Regions from separate parts of the Homo sapiens genome. Here region 1 is linked to region 2. Evidence: promoter capture Hi-C in 16 types of primary human blood cells and fetal thymus (Javierre and others, 2016). All regions are on one chromosome and are shown on one strand. The core of a region is centred on a gene start or on the middle of the fragment in contact, and the rest is flanking DNA. Distances in the headings are between cores, read along the strand shown. Region 1 overlaps MYCBP2 (MYC binding protein 2). Region 2 holds the start of MYCBP2-AS2 (MYCBP2 antisense RNA 2).

Region 1 (6,599 bases), core at 523-3,022, 110 kb before region 2:
CAGCAAAGCCTTAAGGTGCCATTGTCATTTGCCGTATTTATTTATTTCTTTATTTATTCATTTATTAATTTTTATTTTTGAGACAGAGTCTCACTCCATCACCTAGGCTGGAGTGCAGTGGTGTGATCTCAACTCACTGCAACCTCTGCCTCCCGGATTTAAGCGATTCTCATGCCTCAGCCTCCTGAGTAGTTGGGACTACAGTCGCATGCCACCAGGCCCGGCTAATGTTTGTATTTTTAGTAGAGATGGGGTTTTACCATGCTGACCAGGCTGGCCTTGAACTCCTGACCTCAAGTGATCCTCCTGCCTTGGCCTCTGAAAGTGCTGGGATTACAGGAATGAGCCACTGTGCCTGGCTGCCATTTGTTTTTGACCATATGAGTTTGAGTCGAAAATATAAAGCACAGTTTCATTTATAGAGAATCGTCTAGGATTTCTTCATTAGCTTATATACAAAGCCCAGACTCCTAAGGCATTGGGAGCATTGAAGGATTTCCATAACATCCAGCATCTTTTTTGACTTTCTACCACTACTCTTCTACAGCTGTCTTAATGCATTAATGAAATTAATAATGAACACCTTGTCATTTCCTGACCTCTTTTGTACTTCCATACCTCTACAGATTTTTTCATGACATTCTCCTGCTTCTTTAAATGCCCTTTATTCTTCTTTCAATTCCAGCTACAACCAATAAACATTCCTTCCACTCTGTTACCTAGTACTTTGTAACTTGTTTATATCCTTTAGAAGATGCCCTTATTTATTGTCTTTTTTCTTCTTCTAAATTAATAATGTTTGTATAGATATTATGTGACAGACTCCAAACACCTATCTGACTTAATTCATTCTAAAGGACAACTCTATGAGCAGGATATTATTTTCACCACAGTTTTCAGGTGAAGAAGCTAAGGTACTGAGAGGATAGAGTAACTTGCCCTGCGTTGCCCTGCTAGCAGGTCACAGAGCTGGGCCTTGAACCCAGGCTGCCTGACTCCAGGGCCATTTTCTTAATATGCTGCCTTTCAAAACTATTTAGCTGAATGAATGAGCTTTAAAACTAAAGTTCAGATTTTTATTTTCCAGCAAAATTTGAATGTTTTTTAATATCAGTTTAAAACATTCTAATTTTAATATGAAAGTTTTATAACATTTAAGGATATTGTAGAATTCAAGAAGAGGAGGAAGAAATGTAATTCTATCACCATAACATAAATAACTATATTTGCTTGCATTCTTGTCCAGACTTCTTAGAGTGTTTTTAATGTTGTTTGATAAGAATTTTATAATACAGTTAGTTTCATGTTTTTGTTCACAAGGGATTTTGAAAAAATAAATATATGTGACAGAGAAGTAAGAAAATATTGTTTTTGACTCACTAATTTTTTCTCAGAGAAAAATATGCAATGATGTTTGATGAGCCTGTTCTCCTGCAAGCTGGGTGGTGGTATGTGGCATGGGCCCGAGTGTCAGGACCCAGCAGTGACTGTGGATCTCATGGACAGGCATCTATTACCACAGATGATGGGTAAGTAAATGCCCAAGTGTTACTTAAGCAATACTTATTTTTGTTAGAGGAATATTGTTTTGAAAATTCAGAGTACTTTCAGCAGGATTCAAAAGCTTAGGAAGACTAGAGCATAATATAACTGCTAAAAATTAAATTCATGTAACCTCATGCCAAATTGAGGTCTAGACAGAACAAGGAGATAATAAGACCACTGTACTTTGCTCCTGTCAGATGGTATTTGTATATATTTCTGGGTATTACATTGTTTACGAGCTTGATTACCAAATTAGAAATTATATAGAGGAAGGTGACAAGGAAAATGAGGAGTTTGGAACCATAAAAAAGAAGTAGATATGTGATATTAAATTTGATAGTGCATGAGAAAACAGTTTAAAATTTCAAAGCTTCAGCAATGTGTGTTATTTTAATAAAATATAGGGAAAATTTTGCTGTTTTAAAATAACTTTCACGTATAGAGTACTTTTCAGTTCATATTCTTATATTTTATCTGATTTGATGCCCTCAATAGCTTTGTGAAGCAGTTATTAGCCCCATTTTATACTCCAGGGACTAGAGAAATAAAAAGGTGAAATTATTTGCTATTTCCTGAGAGTCATGTGGTTAAAACCAAGGTCAGACCTGTAACCTGTTGACTCTAAATCCAACATTTCAATATTCTATTACTATGATTTATGTATTCTAAAGGACTATCATTTGTAAGATAAATTCAGTTTATTCTTGATTACTCCTGAGCATAAACTATTTGAAATCAGTTGAAGTTATATAACAGTATATATTCCAGTGCAGGTCAATTCATAACAAAGCTGACCAAAAAAAGAAATAGACTTATTTGTGAGGTGAATTTCCTGTTGCTGAATATTCAAGGAGACTACTGTAGAAAAATCACATCTGTTGTTATGTGCATCAACTTAAGAATGTCTTTAGAACTAAGTGACTACTTTGACCCTGGACTGTATGATTTTCATAGACAGTTCATTCAGACTTGGAATGTCATGGCACACTGAGGCTAAAGCTTATCATGCAGCTAGTCAAGCAGATATTATACTACTTAGTTGTAAGTAGAAATTTTAGAAGTTTACTGCTGTGGTTAAAGCTGAGTTGGAGAGCTAGGAGGGACAGGACAGCTACTCATTTAGGAGTCCTAATCACGTTCAGTTCTTTCATTTTACTGACTAACCCATTCAGAGCTAGAATGAAAATCTAGAAAATACCTTTTTGCTTTTCTTTATGTAAAAGAGTGAATCATTTTCATTGACATAAGATTTGAAAACATGTTTCTTAAATTTCTTATTTCCTGTAATGATCATGTTGTTTTTGGTATCATTGTTTTCTCTTCTTAGGGTTGTTTTCCAGTTCAAGAGTTCAAAGAAATCAAATAATGGTACAGATGTTAATGCGGGTCAGATACCTCAGTTATTATACAGGTATTTAGCATATTTATACTGAATTAGTATGGTTTATTATTTTGCTATAATGAAGTAGAATCATTACAAAACGTGGCATAATAGGGAGAAATTATTTGAAGCATTCAGCAAATTATAATATGCTGGTAGAACTATAAATATATTTAACAAAAACAGTTAATATTTTGTATATTTTTAAACATTTTCCATACAGGCTTAACTTTAAACTTTGCCTGATTACTCAGATTATCTGTATTATACCAATAACAATATTTTACTGACTTTAAAAAAAATCTATCCATTGATTTTCTTACTAATTTCAAATGTTGTAAAAGAATAAAATTTGTCTTGGAGAAGTGAGATTGCAGGGAAGATGGGGAGGACTATAGATGCAGGCCTGGTTGATATATTGTAGTCTCATAAGACTGATAAAATGAGTTGGAAAATTCCCTACTGTTGGTAAATTTTCACCTTTAGCTAAAATACCAAATAATAACTTGCTCATATAATATTTACTATATTTTTAACATTATTGAAAAATTTTAACTTACAATAATTTAAGCATGTATAAAGGCATATGCCTGTGTTTACCTTATTTATTTCTAGACTACTGCAATACTTTTAGAATAAAGAATTCAAATGGATATAAACCGTTACTGAAAAATGTTGTCATTCGTTAAGCAGTAAAAAATCAAAGGAAATGGTCTAGAACTGTGATTCTATCTCCCTATCTTTCTTTCTGGTAATCACTTTGTGGTTACAAACATTATTTTTCCCCAAAAGGTTTTTTCGTTTGTTTGGTTTTTATGCACCGTGCAATCTGTTATAGTTACTGTTTGTAATATGTAGCTCTACAAACATAACGTGTTGCATTGGACTACTCCCAGGTACTCACTGGTTGAATAACTTTTAAATAACAGCATTAATAGTAGCATTACTAGAGAATATAAGTTATATGTTATATACATTATATATGTTCTCTAAGAAGAGGAAAAAGCCTCTACTACTCGGTCTTGCGAAGGTAGGATTTAAAGGAAGTGCCCATATGCTAAAAACTTTGTTTAGCTTGGAAAAATGTTTCAAAAAAGCCCTGTATTGGCATTACCTGGCAAAAAAATTTAAATATATAATTTATTTTCCCATTCAAAAATGTATAATATACTTTAAAAAGAAAAAATGACATTGGACTTTCTAACATAATTTTATATGTGTCTACTGCCTTTAGACTTCCAACCAGTGATGGCAGTGCTTCAAAAGGCAAACAGCAAACCAGTGAACCTGTACACATTTTAAAGAGGTCTTTTGCAAGAACTGTCTCAGTGGTAAGCCATGTTTTAAAAAATTTCAGCTTTTCTCTTCAGTCCTCAGATACATTTTGATGTTTAGAGTTTAGCTGCTCTTGTAAGTTTATCTTAGCCTAGATTTATAAACTCAGATTTGGTTTTGTATTCACATTTATATTCTAGACCACAGATAAAGTATACTTTAAATCATAGAAAAATGGAGGTGTTGGCCTATGATTTTAACATGACCAGATGAATTGGCCTTGCTGTTTTTGAAACAAATAACGATTTGCTTTTCTAGTAAATCATATATGAATGCATATGCTGAATGAATTAGAAAATGAAGGAAAAGTTAAGGATGGTGCTGGCCCAAAAAAGCGTGATTACTACTTGAGGAACTAGGTGGAAGAGTTGCATATCTAACTAGGAAGTTTGTTGAACCACTTGCCATCCCCATTGTACACATGAAGAAGCACAGTGCCATTGAGGTTAACAGTGCAGAATGGAAAGTCAACATGATGTAAATAAATGAAAGTATAAATTAAGGTCTTGATCTCTCATGTATTAATTGAGGATTCTTACGTATGTTACCTAAGTAAATTACATCATAGCATTTTGAATTTCTAATGAGATAAGGGGTGTAAGATGTTTTTGGAACTGTAAGGCACCATCTGAATGTGATTTATTAATATAGCTAGTAGTCTTTCATATTAGTAAAATGCATAGGAAGAATGTTTCTTTCCCTTTTAAATTTATTTTTCAACCCACCAAGTGAATATATATTCCTGGTAGGAATGAGATAAAAGTATCCTAAAAGTATATGAAAGATTTTTCTCCCATTCTCATGATCACCATATATACCTACTATTTACATTTTGGTGTGTATCTTCCCAGACCTTTTTTTTTTTTTTTTTTTGGTGAGGCAGAGTCTCGCTCTGTCGCCCAGGCTGGAGTGCAGTGGCACGATCTTGGCTCACTGCAACCTCCGCGTCCTGAGTTCAAGCAATTCTCCTGCCTCAGCCTCCTGAGTAGCTGGGATTACAGGCGCCTGCCACCACGCCCAGCTAATTTTTGTATTTTTAGTAGAGAGGGGGTTTCACCATGTTGGTGGTGGTCTCGAACCCCTGACCTCGAACAGGCTGGTCTCGAACCCCTGACCTCATGACCCACCCGCCTCGGCCTCCCAAAGTGCTGGGATTACAGGTGTGAGCCACCGCACCCGGCCTTCCCAGACCATTTTTATATGCAAAAAAACTTATTAGTACGTATCAAATACAGGATGCTCTACAACATGCTTGCTTGTTTCTTACGATACTTACAGTTTTCATCTTTTTTAGAAAATTTCGTATTATATATCATGGACATCCTTCCCTGGCAGTACATTTGGCTCTGTCAGTCTTCTCCGTTTGCGTACCATTATTCTAATTTATTCAATCTGATATCTATCAAAGAACCACTTTGATTCTCATTTTTTGTTATTTCATCTTGCTTCATGAGCATCTATACACATACATCTTTAAATACTTGTGTACTTATGTGCATACTTCTACTGGAAATATGCCCATTTAAAGTTTGGTATATCCTCTCAAAGTTGACCTTCCAAAAGAGCCATGGCAGTTTGTAGAGCTTGTGCTTTGAATAAAAGACTATGAGAACTTTGGCTTCTTGGTAACTTTGCATCCTATTAGTCTTAAGTTGAGTTTGGTATCTTTTGATTCAAATAAGGATCTTTGACTCTGTTATGCTTTCTTTAGTGATCTCACTTTTCTGTGCTTGGTAACCCCTTTGTATTTATGTTTAAGTGGTTTTGTGGCCATTAGGTAATTGTAGACTTTATATACAAAACTTATTCAGTCATTTCTTTAAAAGGTAAACTATAGGGCTTAGCACATTGGCTCACGCCTATAATCCCAGCACTTTTGGAGGCCGAGGCAGGAGGATTGCTTGAGCTCAGGAGTTCAAGACCAGCCAGGGCAATATAGTGAAACCCCCATCTAAAAAAACTTAAAAATTAGCTGGGTATGGTGGTGCGCACTTGTAGTCCCAGCTGCTTGGGAGGCTGAGGGGGTGGTGAGAGGATAGCTTGAGTCCAGGAGGTTGAGGTTGCAGTGACCCGTGATCACACCATTGCATTCCAGTCTGGGTGATAGAGGAAGACTCTATCTCAAAAAAAAAAAAAAAAAAAAATTGAATCTATAAACTCGTTTTCAGGAGCTCTGGGATTTGGTGGGAATGGGGCAGTAAGTGCTCTGCTTTGAGATTCAGGTGGTATCTGTTGTCATTTAACCATGATAAAACCAGAAGACTAGAACTGCAAAGAAAATCTACCATCTTAAACTCATATGCTAGAATTTTAAATAATCAAAATAGGAATTTTTTAG
Region 2 (5,850 bases), core at 379-2,878:
TTCTTAGTGCCCTAAATTATCACTGTAGCAATCTCCCTCACTTTCCCCAGTCTCCTACCTCAAATCACTTAAATGTCCCAAAAAGAGAGAGGGAAAATGAAATCTCAAAAACAAAAACCAAAATAGAGTTTTGACTTGAAAAGAATCTTGGGGAAAACAGAGCCTGGTTGTATGCACCCAGTCCTAAAAGCACCTTAAGGAGCATCACAGATGCTCAACAGATTCCAATTTCAATTTGAAATGTGTTGAGAATTTAGCATTGCTTTTACACTGTGAACCTTGTTACTAGATTCACATACTGGACTCACACTTATAAATAAATTCTCCTAATTAATGTATACAAGAAATAGATTGATGGAATGCTTGGGCTTCCCATGTTACTAATGATAAGACCAGTGGAAGAGAGATTTCTCTTTGTCCTCCTCACAAGATTTTTGAACTACAAGATAAACTATACCCTGATGAATTAGTATGGCATTGTAAGAGTAATAAATTTGAGGGGTTGTTGCAGTTGGTGTACCACTTGTTTACACAATAGATTCATTACCCTTTTTGCTTCTGTAGCCTTGATCTTCATCTGTCTAATTCTTTTATATTTAAAATGGGTCAACTTTCCTTAGAATTTACCTTGTTCCAAAGAAGTTACCTTTATTTCTCAAAAACAAAAACAATAGGAATGATTTTCTTCCCTGAATTTTTAAAATGTCTGTTACTAGAACATTAAAATTTCTTGAGATATTAGCTACAGAGTACTCATCTAAGAGTTCCTTAGATGTTCCTGGAAAATAATTATTTCGTATATTGCTTATATATCGCCTTTTTAGGTGCTGGAGTCTCAAATTCAAGCAATCTGATCACCAGTTCCTTCATCAGAGCAACGTCTTTCATCACATTAACAATATTTTGTCAAAGTCAGATGATGGCGATAGTGAAGAGAGTTTTAGCATCAGTATACAGTCTGGCTTTGAAGCTATGAGTCAGGTCAGTCATTTCAGTTATTATCCTGGTTGTCCTGTTAGTTAATAATACATCAAAGGAGAAACTGTAAGTTATTCATAATCAATTTGATCCTGTCTTCCATTATGTTTTATCTTATACCTGTTTGTTTTATCATCACGAAAGATTTGCTTTTAAGTATCATAAGTACTTATATTTGTTTCTGATAGGAATTATGCATAGTAATGTGCTTAAAGGACTTAACCAGCATTGTTGACATAAAAACTTCAAGCCGACCTGCCATGATTGGCAGTTTGACAGACGGCTCCACAGAAACCTTTTGGGAATCAGGAGATGAAGATAAAAACAAAACTAAGAACATCACCATCAACTGTGTAAAAGGAATCAATGCCCGCTATGTGTCTGTTCACGTGGACAATTCCCGAGATCTTGGGGTAAGAAAGCAAACGTGATTTACGGCTCTTTAGCTCTTTTCAGATCTTAGTATTCATGCACTTTCATTTCTGAATTTAGCAACAAGCTTTATCACCTGGAATTTCACCAACCAAACATCATTGCTATAATCCCCAAATAAATCTTAAGTCTAAAAACAAATTAATATGATTGGGAGCACTGTGGAATTCCATTTCTGAAAAGAGGTCTGATTACAAATATACCATGGCTACAGCTAAGCAAAATGAAAGTCTGCTCTACAATTTTCTGCTGCCATTCCCTTGGTTAAGATTTTCCCGTGACCTGGAAGTCCTCCCCTTAAACTCTGCTGATCAATTCTTCCAGGGTCTCTCAAACTCAGCAGAGAAATTCTAAGTAACTCCTCTAAAAAATTACTCTTTCCCTCTGCTGATTCTTTTTGTATTACTCTGGTGGCACTTAATAATAATCTTTGACCTATAGTGTAATCAGCTTTTTTTTTTTTTTCTGAGATGGAGTCTCCCTCTGTCACCCAGGCTGGAGTGCAGTGGCACAATCTTGGCTCACTGCAACCTTCGCCTCCAGGTTCAAACGATTCTCCTGCTTCAACCTCCTGAGTAGCTGGGATTACAAGCACACGCCACCATGCTTGGCTAATTTTTGTATTTTTAGTAGAGACAGGGTTTCACCATGTTGTCCAGGCCGGTCTCAAACCCCTGGCCTCAAGTGATCTGCCCACCTCAGCCTCCCAAAGTGCTAGGATTACAGACATGAGCCACTGCACCCAGCCTATCTTCAAGTGTCTACTTTGCCACAGTCCTCATGAAATAAAAAATAAGTTTCAGACTGTCCCAAATAATCATAATTTATATTCTCTTCAGCCTAGTTCATCCATGTGTTTCAACTGAATTAAATATTCTTTTATAAAAGGCACTAAACAAGAAAAAAGAGTCCTATTTGCTTGAGTATTAACAACCAAGAAAGAAATAGCACTAACTGCCAGACTGCCTTTCTTCTACCTCATTTAGAATTTTTTTCCTCAGAATGGATGTGGCTTGCTAGCAGATACAGTATTAATGGCTCTCCTTGAACCATTGCCTGGCTTCTCCTGTGCCATTTGCATATTTCCTTTCTCAGGAAGAGCCACAGTGGTAGGATTGGGTCTCAGATAACCTGGATGCAGGCCAGTCTGCAATCAGAGCAACCTCCAACTCCTGTACATCAGTGCAGGTTCTATTCCTCCCTGGTATTGAGTAAGTAAAAGAGGCTTAGCTAATATAATATGAGCTATTTCCTCCTCAGACCTAAGAATTTCCACTGGTGTAACTACTTTATCTTACTGGAAAGTCAAGTGTAACAAAGCAAAACATTTTTGTAGCTAGAACTCACTGTTCAGTGCAAAGCTATCTTTGGCTCATGGTACATTTTAAGCAAGGACATACTCTCCCTCAGAACAATGATTGCAATCAATTTAACACTTCTGTCTTTTCTAAGAGGAAATAATCATAACAGTATTCATTTTCAAAATTCCCAACATGTAAGCTGACATCTACTTTCCTTTTAACAGGCTTCCTCTATGTTATAGGTTGAGCATTCCAAATCTGAAAATCCAAAATGCTACAGAATCTGAAACTTTTTGAACACAGATATGACACTTAAAGGAAATGCATATTGGAGCATTTCTGGTTTTAGATATTCAGATTTGGGGTGCCCAGCCAGTAAGGATAATGCAAATAGAGTATTTCAAAATCCTAAAAAATCCCTAATCCAAAACACTTCTAGTCCCAAATATTTCTAATAAAGGATACTCAACCTGTATGTATGTTTTCCTTGAGTTATGTACCTCCATGTTCCTCAACCTGCCTACCACAGAGCCTTGTACACAGCATTTGTTGATTTGAGTTGTATCAGCCTACAGCACTCATATTATGCAGCTCTCCAAGGAATTAATGTTAATCTATTTCTTGATGTGCTTTGCGTAAAACTTATTCAGCCTTAAGATATTTGACACTAGTTTGAACATGTATTGAACTTGTACTGTTTGACATTTATTTTGTGTATTAATGTTGCCTTCCCTAGTTTGGCAAGTATCTTGGGGGATAGAACCTCCTCTCATATATCCTACTTCAAATCTGTAAGGAAGTCTGGGTACATTGTGACACTCATAAGTATTTGTTAGTTCAGTTACCTTCCCTCTTTATACTTCCAAAAGTAATGAAAATATAGCAACAAGAGTCTGACATAAGTGACAAGCAGATTTGTTGAAAGGCTTCATGAGGAAGGAATCTGAATATTTAGACTTTGAATAAGGAGAGGGAATGTCAAGCTGTGAGAGAGCACCTGGAGAGAGGCTGAAATGTGCAATTTAAGATGGAGTTTGTGAGAATGAGACTAAAGTTATAGGAACCGTGGTTAGTTGGAGGGATGGGGTGGGGTCAATCAGGAAGGACCATAAGAGACAGGCAGAAGAGTTGATGTGGTATTAGTAGGTCATGAGAAACCATTGTAAGTTCTGAAGCAGGAATATAGCATATTAACTATTGTGAATTGTCTATTTCAGAATAAAGTTACCTCAATGACCTTCTTAACTGGCAAAGCAGTAGAAGATTTGTGCAGAATAAAGCAGGTAATTGAAATTTTGTCATTAAATGTTTCGCTACCTAGAGAGAAATTTCTTCTTCTCAGCCTTCACTATTGAATTCCACCCTTGGCACACAACCAAAGTATTATAGGGAATTATCTATTTACAGAACACTAAATTGACAAGTGGTCCAAAACATAGGAATAGTAACCACCATCCCTGTGCTGGACATCTCACCTGTTTTCCTAAATGTTCCCCAGTCATGAGCAATTATATTGTACCTACAGTCTCCCTACCCTACTCCCCAACAAAGACTCAGGGTATCTTAAAATTTATCACAGATCCCATTCACACTTAAAACCTTACTTCACCTATACTTTGAGTTAATACAGGTTATTGTCCTCTGGCCTGAAAAATCTGTCTGTTATAACACTTATAACACTGCAGCTATATCCAGGTTGCAAGTCAGTTTAAACCAACTTTAGAAACAAGTTAAGTTTTATCTAGGCATGTGTCTGAGACTGTGCTCAAGCTCCCTTACTTGTATTCATGAAACTTTGTCAAATCTGTTCCTCACTGGCTACTTTATCTCACAAAAAGTTGGCCAATCGCTTGCTTGCTTGCTTGTTTTCAAATCACATTGAAGGAATCAATTAAGATTTTGGACTAAACATATAATAAATTTTGTTTAAATTGTTGAAGAATTTGGGAAAATAATCCTATTCAATGAGATTGTGTTTGTTTATACTTAATACCCCTTTTTGAAAATTGACATTATTAATTAAAATAATATCAACTTAATGTCTATTTAAATCACATAGAAATCGCCAGGTCATTTCTTGGTTATTAAATGCCATAAGAACAGTTTTTATTTTATGAAGGGAATAGTGTCAAGAACTATTTCACAGTATATTAACATTTAATCCTTGAAAAAAAAAGTCATATTCTCAATGAAAATTAGTGAAATAAGGAATCACAAGTGTGAAGTTACATATTATGTAATTTTTGTTCAAAAGTAAAACATATTAAGTAACTGCACTTTAAAGTCCCTTATCTTTAAATGGTACTTTAATGTGAGGATGCACAAAAAAAGAACCCTTTTCTGATCTTGTGAGGTTTCCACTTACAGATGATATAGATAAAGTACAGTCATATAAATTATTTGTAATTATTTCACTCATATAATTTTGCTCGGAAGCCATATCGTAGTCAGGCCTGGATTTTAATTCTCAATTCCACCATTTACTGAAAATCCCTTAACCTGTATTAACCTTAGTTTCTTCATCTGTGTAATAGCTACTATAAATAATATTACTTATCTTCACCTGGTTGAAATAAGAAAATCAGTGTGAAATAACCTCATAACCTTTACTCTGTGCAATTCTTTGTTATTTGAGCTTGCTGGTATCAATGCTAAGTCCAGCACAGTGATAAAAGTGATCCAGCTGAATCAGGTTCCTGCCTCTTTTCTACTCAACCAGGTTGATCTGGATTCCAGGCACATTGGCTGGGTAACAAGTGAACTTCCAGGAGGGGATAATCACATCATAAAAATTGAATTAAAAGGCCCAGAAAATACACTGAGAGTTCGACAAGTCAAAGTCCTGGGCTGGAAAGATGGTGAAAGCACAAAAATAGCTGGCCAGATTTCAGCCAGTGTGGCCCAGCAGAGGAACTGTGAAGCTGAGACTCTGCGAGTATTCAGACTGATTACGTCTCAAGTGAGTGTCCTTACAACATATTCTAGCACAGGATAATTGATGTAATATATTTTAAGAGTGTAACAAAATATTTTGTGAAACTTATTACAGAAATTTCTGGCTATAAATGTTGCCCATTTTTTCTTTTCATAGCCCTAAACACCTGAGTTCCATGTTGCATTTGTAATTAAGAAAAATAGT

The links. Contacts are between HindIII fragments. The CHiCAGO score rates a contact against its expected background, and 5 or more counts as called.
Region 1: a contact is called between a fragment that was not itself captured here and the fragment with the promoter of MYCBP2-AS2 in region 2, in 3 of 17 cell types (total B cells, monocytes and megakaryocytes). The highest score is 6.4, in total B cells.

The regions. Positions count from the first base shown.
Region 1 is chr13:77,186,609-77,193,207 of GRCh38, reverse strand. MYCBP2 (MYC binding protein 2) reads left to right here. Exons shown (of 83, transcript NM_015057.5): 28 at 1,395-1,529; 29 at 2,873-2,956; 30 at 4,161-4,257. Among named protein-coding and RNA genes, the nearest start is that of MYCBP2-AS2, 110 kb to the right of the region's middle. The HindIII fragment of the contact is 291 bases long and covers 1,627-1,917 here.
Region 2 is chr13:77,076,968-77,082,817 of GRCh38, reverse strand. MYCBP2-AS2 (MYCBP2 antisense RNA 2) reads left to right here and starts at 1,628. Exons shown (of 2, transcript NR_170173.1): 1 at 1,628-1,904; 2 at 2,157-2,307. It overlaps MYCBP2 (MYC binding protein 2), which reads left to right. Exons shown (of 83, transcript NM_015057.5): 64 at 825-981; 65 at 1,167-1,391; 66 at 3,929-3,994; 67 at 5,431-5,670. The region is part of intron 2 of MYCBP2-AS1 (MYCBP2 antisense RNA 1); the gene reads right to left. The HindIII fragment of the contact is 5,615 bases long and covers 1,480-5,850 here.